Regions from separate parts of the Homo sapiens genome. Here regions 2 and 3 are each linked to region 1. Evidence: promoter capture Hi-C in 16 types of primary human blood cells and fetal thymus (Javierre and others, 2016). All regions are on one chromosome and are shown on one strand. The core of a region is centred on a gene start or on the middle of the fragment in contact, and the rest is flanking DNA. Distances in the headings are between cores, read along the strand shown. Region 1 overlaps LOC124904915 (a long non-coding RNA gene). Region 2 holds the start of WFDC10A (WAP four-disulfide core domain 10A). Region 3 holds the start of WFDC8 (WAP four-disulfide core domain 8).

Region 1 (3,463 bases), core at 301-2,800:
TGCAGAAGGAATGGAGGCTTTGTCATCGAATACACCTGCTGGTTTAACCAAACTAAGATTGAAAGTAAAAACCTTAGCCTGGGAAACATAGCGAGACCCCATCTCTACAAAAACTGAAAAAAATAGCCAGGTGTGGTGGTGCATGCCTGTGGTCCCAGCTACTTCGGAGGCTGAGGTAGAAGGATTGCTTGAGCCCAGGAAGTCGAGGCAGCAGTGGGCCGTGTTTGAGCCACTGCACTCCAGCCTGGGTGACAGAGTAAGACCCTGTCTCAGAAAAAAAAAAAGAAAGAATGTAAAAGCGTTTGAAGCCATTTGGCAAAGATCATGGAAAACAGGGCAAGCAATAGCTACAGAGTTCCAGAGCCATGTTAAATTAATAAATAAGTAAATATTTAAACATTGAATACCTTAACAATTAAAAATCATATCTATCTATTATATTGTTGAATGACAAAAGCCTATTACAGGATGATTCTACCTATATCGACATTTGCATATATGCATAAAGCAAGTCTGGAAGGACCTTCACAAGCATGTTAACAATGGTCACCTATGGGTAGGGAGATCTTCTTTGAATTTTTTTTTTTTTTTTTTTGGTGCATTAGCGATCTTGATGGTTTCAAATGTCATCACCAGGGAATGATAAACGCTGGGGCCTACTTAGGGTGGAGGGCAATAGGAGAGTGAAGATTGAAAAACTACCTATCTGATATTATGCTGATTACCTGGGTGACAAAATTTTCTGTACACCAAATCCCCAAGACACACAATTAGTGCGTGTAACAAACCTGCATATGAATCCCTTTAAAGTAAAATACAAGTTGAAAGGAAAAAAATAAAACCTCTTCAATCATCTTTCAGATAGCAATTTTTTTCATTGCTTCTTCAGTGTACATAAATATTCTTTTACATCATTCACACTTCTTTGAACTTTTCTGTACTGTTTAAATATCGCAATAATGTTTATGCATCCTATTTTAAAAACAACAACAACAAATTAAAAAATAAAAAGGAGAAGGAGGAAGGTGAGGAGGAGAAAAAGAATAACAAAAAAGACTTGTGATCCTAAGCATATAGACAGCTCAGAAATTGCAGGAAAGCTGAAAAAGAAAAACAAGAGAAAGGTAAAGGAAGAATGATCATTAATAATATTACTAAATTGGGCCAGGCACAGTGGCTCACGCCTGTAATCCCAGCACTTTGGGAGGCCGAGGCTGGTGGATCATTTAAGGTCAGGCGTTCGAGACCAGCCTGGCCAACATGGTGAAACCCTGTCTCTACTAAAAATACAAAAATTAGCTGGGCGTGGTGGCTAATGGTGGGTGTAATCCCAGCTACTTGTGAGGCCAAGGCTGGAGAATTGCTTGAACCCAGGGAGCAGAGGTTGCAATGAGCCAAGAGCACACCATTGCACTCCAGCCTGGGCGACAAGTCTCTGTCTCAAAAAAAAAAAAAAAAATTACTGAATTGGGCTACAGATTCTTAGAGCTGCTGATGGGACTTTCATGAACTTCTAATTCAGAGATCCCCAAACCAGACCACACATTAGAATTCCCTGAGGGCTTTTTTTAAATATTGCTCTGAATAAACACATAAACAAGCAGTTCCCTTGGCCCAACCCATCTTTGACCTACTGAATCAAAATATCTGGAATGGGATTGGGGAATCTGCACATTGACCAGCCCGTGCAAGGATCTAAAACCAGCCCCTGGCAACCACTAATGTACTTCTGTCTCTACGAATTTGCCTATTCTAGATGTTCCATATAAATGGAATTATATGGCCTTTTGTGACTGGCTTCTGTCACTTAGCATGTTTTCAAGGTCCATTCATGTTATAGAATGTATTGGTACTTCATTCCTTTTTATGGCTGAATTAATATTTCATTGTATTGATATACCACATTTTGTCTCTCCATTCACCAGTTGATAGATATTTGAGTTGCTTCCACCTGTTGGCTATTGTCCACCTGTTTCTATTTCTATGAACATTTGTTCACAAGTTTTTGCTTGAACATCTAGGGGTTTTGTTTGTTTGGTTTTGGTTTGGGTTTTTTGTTTTTTGTTTTTTGTTTTTTCAGAGATAGGGTCTGTCACCTAGGCAGGAGTGCAGTGGCACCTTCTTAGCTCACTGCAGCCTTGTATTCCTGGGCTCAACTAATCCTCCCACCTCAGCCTCTTGAGTAGCTAGAACTACAGTTATGATGCCACCACACCCTGGTTATTTTTTTAATTTTTCTGTAGAGACAAGGGTCTCACTATGTTGCCCAGGCTGGTGTTAAACTCATGTTCTCAAGCGATCCTTCCACCCCAGCTTCCCAAAGTACTGGGGTTACAGGTGTGAGCCATCACACTTGGCCATTGGATACCTGTTTTTAGTTCTTTTGGGTATATACCTAAGAGTGAAATTGCTGGGTCATATGGTAATTCCACATTTAACTTATTGAGAAACCATCAAACTTTTTAGGGTTTTTTTTTTTTTGAGACGGGGTCTTGCTCTGTTGCCCAGGCCAGAGTGCAGTGGCACAATCATAGCCCCCTGCAGCCTCAATCTCCTGAGCTCCAGTGATCCTCCCACCTCAGCCTCCCAAGTAGCTGGGACTATAAGCACATGTCACTACACCTGACTGACTTTTTTTTTTTTTTTTTAAGTAGAGACAAGATTTTGCTATGTTGCTCAGGCTGGTCTTGAACTCCTGAGCTCAAGCAGTCCTCCCACCTCAGTCTCCCAAAGTGCTGAGATTACAGGCATGAGCCACTGTGCCCAGACCACTGTTTAGTTTTTTAATGTGGCTACTAAAAAACTTGAAATTACATACATGGCTTGCATTATGTTTCTGTGAAAGAGTGCTGCTCTGGATGCTTCTTTCTGCCCAAGTATTCTACTGGAACTTACCTCTCATTTACCTTTGCCCTCACCTGCTTCCAAACAAGACTCAAGGAGGAACTTAATACTATAAAACAGCCAGGTGCAGTGGCTCACGCCTGTAACCCCAGCACTTTGAGAGGCCAAGGCAGGTGGATCATTTGAGGCCAGGAGTTCGAGACCAGCCTGGCCAACTTGGTGAAACCCTGTCTCTACAAAAAATACAAAAATTAGCTGGGCATGGTGGTGCGCATCTGTAGTCCCAGCTACTTAGGGAGCTGAAGCAGGAGGATCACTTGAACCTGGGAGGTCGAGGCTGCAGTGAGCATGATTGCACCACTGCACTCCAGCTTGGGAGACAGAGTGAGACCCTGTCACAAAAAACAACAACAGAAAATAAAATACTACAAAACAAGTTACATGAAAATGAAAGTCTTTAAACCAAGAGTGAAAAAAGGTAGGGGATCCAGGCGCAGTGGCTCACACCTGTAATCCCAACACTTTGGGAGGCCAAGGCATGCAGATCATGAGATCAAGAGATCAAGACCATCCTGGCCAACATGGTGAAACCCCATTTCTACTAAAACTACAAAAGTTA
Region 2 (3,249 bases), core at 395-2,894, 140 kb before region 1:
CTTATAAATGTCAGTACTTGAGCCTGCCACAATGTTGACTAGACTGCTTTAACAGAAAGCCTCCATCACATAATAACTGAAATACAATATACTTTTTATTTCTTGCTCAAATAATAATTCAAAATGAGTATTCTAAAACAATGGGTATCCTTTTTTCATGTGATAAAAGAAGTCAAGGACCCAGGCTCCTTTCACCTTTTGGCTTCACTAGGCTCTAGAACCTTGTTGTCATCTATACTGAGCTGGTGGAAAAGAAAAAGAGTGTGAAAGAGACTTGCCATCTTCTTAGGGTCTTGACCTAGTAGTGACAAGTCTGTTAGCCAAAATATTTACATTGTGGCACTGGCTGCAAGATGCTTGGGTAAGGAAAATGCAGCTTCTATTTGAGATGATGATTCTCCTCTATATAACCCCTCTTTGCTAGGATAGTTATGACAGTGTCCAGTCTCTAAATTGTTCATTTATGAGTGGACAAAAAGAAAAACTAGGAAAGAGAGAGCCTTTGGGAAGGGTCAAATACCACTCTGTAAACTATAGGTACAAATATCAGAATTTTTGAATTATAAAGGATATCGCAAAGGATACAGAGGAAGGTGCATAAGGTGAGATATGGGGGAAAGGCTAGAGAGCTTCCTTTGAATGTAAATTACAACTGTGGACTGAAGGAGTCTGCATTAGGAGTTCAGAATGTCAGAAAGAGGTTCAAATCTTTAGAAGATTATCATCATCAGAGGAAGAGGGTGATCTTCTTCCCAGCTTGCATGCCTACTGGGAGTCCAGTGACCCTAGGTTGTCCCCTCTTTCTCCTGTTAGGGAAGAAGAAACATCTTCACTTCTGAGAGTTCATTTCCTTCATGATATTCAAGGTCAGTGACCACCTCCTCCTGGACAGCCTGCCAAGCCTTTGACTGATAGGTCTCTCCCCCTGTCTGAGCTCTAAGATATTTACTATGTTTCTCCACTAGCCCTTCTGTCCCATGCCCTACAATAGTCTCTCTTTCTGTGTGTTTATGTGTGTTTAAATTTGTATATGTATATCTGTGTATGTGTTTATATACATTTATATATGAAACAGCTACTTACTCTTTCACTCAGGAATTCTAGCTCTCTTAGTCTAAAGAAATCAAAGATTTATAAATAAAAATAATATGACATTCTCTAGATTATTAGTAATTAGTACAATACAAATACTTGATTATTAGCATTTGAGAGCTGTGCAATTATGAAAATCCACATTTTGAGAAATACTTACATGATTAAATAAGGGTGGCAAAAATAGATAACAAAAGTTGTTTATATTAAAAGGATTGTTTATATTAAATATGGAGAGAAACTAAAAGATAATGCAATGAAACATCAGTTAATTCTAAGCAACTCTTTTTAACAATATATTTTTTCTTTTCTTTTTTCCATAAAACATTTTGTAATTAGAAAGCAGAAATAAATGATATCTTTCATTCTATCGGCAAGAACACAAGACTGGTTATGTGAAAGGAGGAGGCGTCATTCCTGCGGAAGCCCTATCCCACATGACGAACGACAAGGCCAGGGGCAAGCAAAAAGAGGAAGGACTCTCTTGCTCTGCTCCGACTTGGCCAGTAGAGGCAGTGAGGAGCTAAAGATCATTCCTTCTTTCCTTCCTTCACTCTCCGTAGACAGCTCTGCAGGGAAGTCTGTGACAACCTGGCCAGACATAGGGCTCACGATCTGATCAGAGTCATGGCACCCCAGACTCTGCTGCCTGTCCTGGTTCTCTGTGTGCTGCTGCTGCAGGCCCAGGGAGGATACCGTGACAAGAAGAGGATGCAGAGTAGGTGATGGGCTGCTGGATGGGTGAGGGGGAATTGGGTAGGGGGAATGGAGGGCCTGTGTCCAGTCTGAGTAGGACCTAGGAGTTGGAAACTCTCTGCATATCCAGCTCTGACCACAATGTTGTGTAGACTCTGGACTGTCCCTAAACCATGGCCCTCCAGCCCCTTAGCTGGCCCTGGGAATAGTAATGGGAATGAAGAAGAAACCTGCATATTTTGCTGTTCCTTCTCAATACTTAGAGAGAAATGGCACATCCCATAGTGAAAGGCGCACCAGGGCTGAGAATCCAGTGGGGAAAGCAAGACAATTATTATTTGATTTATGCACATTTGTGAGGAGTAAAGATTCAGAAGTGGTTATGACGGTAGGTGTAGGTGTAGAATGGGTATAAGTGTAGGGAAATAGGACATAAGACAAGCAAAAGTTGGGGTACACAGAGCCAAGTTAAGGTTATCATCAAAGGGGCAAGGAGAGTGGTGGTGGAAAGGGAACTAAAGAAGGGGCAGGAAGACTAGAGACAGTGACAGTGAGCAGAAGAGAGGGAGAGACAAGAGGCATGTTGATCCTCATCTCTGAATTCTACTATTCAGAGACTAGGAGAGAGTTTGAAAGATGTCTCATGCTTCTTTGAGCTCTCAGGATCAGACTGTAGATTCTTTGGTGGTGACTTCACCAAGGCCATGACTAGTAAGGGAGATGGAGTTCTGATTGCTGGTGTGTGGAGAAGGTCCAGGAAGCCCAGGCATTGTGGTCTAATGGGGTAAGGTGTACAGTGGAGAGACAGGATTTAAAATATGACCAATCACTAGGATTTGGTGATGGGCAGGAAGGTAGTTCTATGAAGAAGGAATCCAGGAGTATCATGACTGAGACCTGGGTTCAAGGGTCTTGGAGGAGGCTTCAGCTTGAGAAAAATGTTCTCTAGGAAACTGCGTTTATTTACCGTTCTATTCTCCTTGTCAGAAACACAGCTATCCCCAGAAATCAAAGTCTGCCAGCAGCAGCCTAAACTATATCTATGCAAACACTTATGTGAATCTCACCGAGATTGTCAAGCAAATAACATATGCTGTTCTACCTACTGTGGGAATGTTTGCATGAGCATCCTGTGAGTGGGAGAGTGGGCTGGGATGTGCATCCTGCTTCCCAACTCCTCTATCCAAGACTGTGCCCACATCCGAAGCACAAGGACCTCAAGTCACCAGCATAAGAACATCAACAGGAATGCCGCCCTCTCTACTGTCTGAACCCCTTGTCCCTGTCAAATAAACCAGAACAAATGCCCAGGGATCCTACCTCTTTTGCTGCCACTACAGATGATCATTGAGAGCTCACTGTGGCCCCTACAGATGCCCCACTTGTCTTGCGTCCTGGTGTTCAATTTCTCTCCCTGGCTATGCTTCTCTACCCTCCCTCTCCCTCTTTGGCCCACGTATC
Region 3 (3,452 bases), core at 624-3,123, 190 kb before region 1:
TTTTTTTGAGATGGAGTCTCACTCTGTCGCCAGGCTAGAGTACAGTAGTGCGATCTCGGCTCGCTGCAACCTCCGCCTTCTGGGTTCAAGTGATTCTCCTGCCTCAGACTCCCGAGTAGCTGGGATTACAGGCACCCACCACCACGTCCTGCTAATTTTTTGTATTTTTAGTAGAGATGAGGTTTCACTGTGTTGGCCAGGATGGTCTCAATCTCCTGACCTAGTGATCCGCCTGCCTCAGCCTCCCAAAGTGCTGGGATTACAGGCATGAGCCACCGCGCCTGGCCTATATACATGTTTAAAAAATAAAGACAGGGCCAGCACGGTGGCTCATGCCTGTAATCCCAGCACTTTGGGAGGCTGAGGCAGGCAGATCACCTGTGGTCAGGAGTTCAAGACTAGCCTGGCCAACACGGTGAAACCCTGTCTCTACTAAAAATACAAAAATTAGCCTGGAGTGGTGGTGCACACCTGTAGTCCCAGCTACTCAGGAGGCTAAGGCAGGAGGATCCCTTGAACCCAGAAGGTGGAGGTTGCAGAGAGCCGAGATCACACCACTATGCTCCAGCCTGGGGGACAGAGAGAGATTCCCTCTCAAACAAAACAAAAAAAATAAAAATAAAAATAAATAAATAAATAAAGTATGTAGAGTTTTATTTAATAATTAACCACACAGATTAAAAAATAGAAAGTAGCCAGCTTCCCAGAAGTCTTCTGTGTGCACCTTCTAATTACCATCTCTGTCATGTGTCTTCAGACAGAAGCACATATAAAAACAAGGTTATGTATTGATCAAATGATGAAAATGTGTGGTCAGAGGCTTGCATTTTCCCTAGGAGCAATGGCTCAGTATTTGCTAATCCGGTGTTCACAGTGACTTTACAGAACATAACTACCCCCAAGTAATGGGAATCAACTGTATTTTTATTACTTTGGTGTACAAAGAACTTTGAGCTCTCCATGGCTTGCCACAACAAAAGACTTCCTAGGCAAATTGTCTACTGCTTTGTTCCAAGTGGGGGCTCTACTTGAGGCTGTGGGACCAAGACAAAAGAAGCAGCCTCTATGTGGATTAGGCCCCTTCTCCTGGCAGAGAGAAAGCACAAAGGAGCTGGCAGAAACTCACAGTGCAAAACTCACTATGCATATGCTACATCTGCTCATACTCCAATAGGCAAAGCACAGCTGACAGCAAACCCAAAGTCAATGAGACAGAAATGTGTCTTCCTTCCACGGGCCGTTCTAAAATTGCAAGGTAATGGACAGGAGTGTCCTCTTAAAGGAAAGATGGAATGAATAGTTGTGAATAATAATATAACCCATCACTACTACTCCTGTTTTAATTTTTTGAAAATGTTTAGATACATATTATATGCTTGTTTAATTTAAAATATCAAACTTTACCTTGCTCAGGCTCTGCCCCTCCACACTGGGCCACTCAAAGATGCCCAACTTACCCTACTTGGGCTCCAACAGCCATATCAGGTTGCATTCGAGACCAGCCTGGCCAACATGGTGAAACCCCGTCTCTACTAAAAATGCAAAACTTAGCCGAGCGTGGTGGCGCACACCTGTAGTCCCAGCTACTAGGGAGGCTAAGGCAGGAGAATCGCTGGATGCATTGATGCCCTCTTCACCCTGCTTAGGCTCTGATTCCTGACACAAGACAGCTCTGTTCTGTGGAACCCCTCCTCACTATGCTTGGCCCAACTCCCCACAGCCGACCACTCTAACTTCTATGTATCCTCCTCATCTCCTTGGGCTCAGACCCTCCATGTCTGGCTACCCACCCCCATAGACACCCTCCTCACCCTCCTTCAGTTCGGACAGTCCACATCAGGCCTCTTCCCTATGGAGACAGCTTCCTCACTTTGCTCCAGCTCTAAGGCTCCTCCCTCATCTGCTCCCCTGCCTGGACACTCTGCTCACCCCACTCAGGCTCTCATTCTATGCCAGTCTGCCCCTCTAGCCCCAGGGGGATGCCTTTCTCAACATGGGCAGGCTGGTCTCCATGCTATGCTGCTTCTTGCCTCTTCACTGGGCATTCTCATCTACCCCTGGCTCCAGCACACCAGGCCAGCAGCCCTCCTACAGAGACACCCTCCTTGACCTGTTCCAGCTCTGATGCCCACACGGAGCCAGCCGTGGCTCCCTTCCCCTTGGGGCAAACGCCTACCTTGCTAAATGTGCCTATCTAATGGCTTTAGGACTGACTAGTTCAGTTAGTAAAGAAAAGGAGACAAAACAAGGAAGAGCTACTTTTCCTTTTTGTAAAAATATGTATTGTGAAAAACACCACAAAAATAAAAATATGCATGAAACATTAATGTTCAGTCTAACGAACTATTACGAAGTGACCACTCATTAAACTATCACTGAAATCAAGTAAAAAATTTCCAACACTTTCTGCTCCTTTTTCATTCTTTTCCAGTCACAACCCCTTCCTATGCTCTCAAAGGCAGCTAATGGTAGTGACTTTCTTTTTCATATTTTCAAGATCATATGTATTCCCCTAAATATGTTTTTGTTTTTGTCTGCTTCTGTTCTATATCAATGGAGTCACTTGGAATGTATTCTTTTGTGCCTGGCTTTTTGTGTTCAACATTATATTAATGAATTCCATCCACATTGTTTTGTGTAGCTGTATTTTGTCAATTTTCATTGCCATGCCATCTATTGTATGACTACACACATCTCTACTGAGTTGTTTATAGTTTGCAGCTGTTAAGAATAAAGCTGCTGTGTGTATACATAGCATGTATGTAATAACGTTCTGCACGTGTATCCCAGAACTTAAAGTATAATAAAAAACTAGGATTTTCTAAATAAAAATGTTATTTATATCAACATGTAATAAGTTTATTACGTTAAATGAATTAATAAATGTTTTTAAATGTCAAAAAAATTTTAAACAATTTACTCATGTAAAAAAAAGAATAAAGCTGCTATGAACACTCTGTGTGCATTTGCTGGAGCACGTGGGCAGGTGTTCTTGTAGGTTATACATTCAGCATAGGGAATGATGGGTTACAGGGTATGCATATCTTCAGCTTCTCAAGCTGATACCAAATTATTTCCCAAAGAGTTTGTACCAATTCACAGCCTTGCCATTGGTAGTTGAGAGTTCCTATTGTTCCATAACCATGCTGTATGTAGAACTGTCACAATCTTTTCATTTTTACCATCCTGCTACGAGTATGGAAATACATCACTGTGGACTTAATTTAAATTTCTTGACTACTAATGAGGTTGAGCACCTTTTTAGATCTTTATTAACCACTTGGCTATCCTCTCTTTGATTTTCTTTTCAAATGTTTTGCTCATTGTTCTCTGGGGTTTTCTGACTTTTTCTTGCTGATTTCTACTGGAGTCATGTCTTTCCTCAGTTATATGTATTATGAACATCTTCCAGGATCAAGGGTAATCTTCTAAAACCCTTATTGGCTTGTCTT

The links. The method cuts DNA at HindIII sites, captures the fragments that hold promoters and counts their contacts. A CHiCAGO score of 5 or more calls a contact.
Region 2: the fragment with the promoter of WFDC10A here is called in contact with a fragment that was not itself captured in region 1 in 3 of 17 cell types (M2 macrophages, M0 macrophages and megakaryocytes); the score reaches 7.3 in M2 macrophages.
Region 3: the fragment with the promoter of WFDC8 here is called in contact with a fragment that was not itself captured in region 1 in 3 of 17 cell types (M0 macrophages, M2 macrophages and M1 macrophages); the score reaches 10.6 in M0 macrophages.

What each region holds. Positions count from the first base shown.
Region 1 is chr20:45,766,726-45,770,188 of GRCh38, forward strand. It overlaps LOC124904915 (a long non-coding RNA gene), which reads left to right. Exons shown (of 2, transcript XR_007067610.1): 2 at 1-855. Among named protein-coding and RNA genes, the nearest start is that of WFDC3, 23 kb to the right of the region's middle. The HindIII fragment of the contact is 5,957 bases long and covers 1-3,463 here.
Region 2 is chr20:45,628,095-45,631,343 of GRCh38, forward strand. WFDC10A (WAP four-disulfide core domain 10A) reads left to right here and starts at 1,645. Exons shown (of 2, transcript NM_080753.3): 1 at 1,645-1,810; 2 at 2,776-3,102. The coding sequence starts at 1,720. The coding sequence ends at 2,924. WFDC9 (WAP four-disulfide core domain 9) reads right to left here and starts at 3,190. Exons shown (of 5, transcript NM_147198.4): 1 at 3,109-3,190. The HindIII fragment of the contact is 11,361 bases long and covers 1-3,249 here.
Region 3 is chr20:45,577,411-45,580,862 of GRCh38, forward strand. It overlaps WFDC8 (WAP four-disulfide core domain 8), which reads right to left and starts at 1,874. Exons shown (of 6, transcript NM_130896.3): 1 at 1,812-1,874. The coding sequence starts at 1,837. RefSeq lists an enhancer at 689-1,624. The HindIII fragment of the contact is 6,723 bases long and covers 1-3,452 here.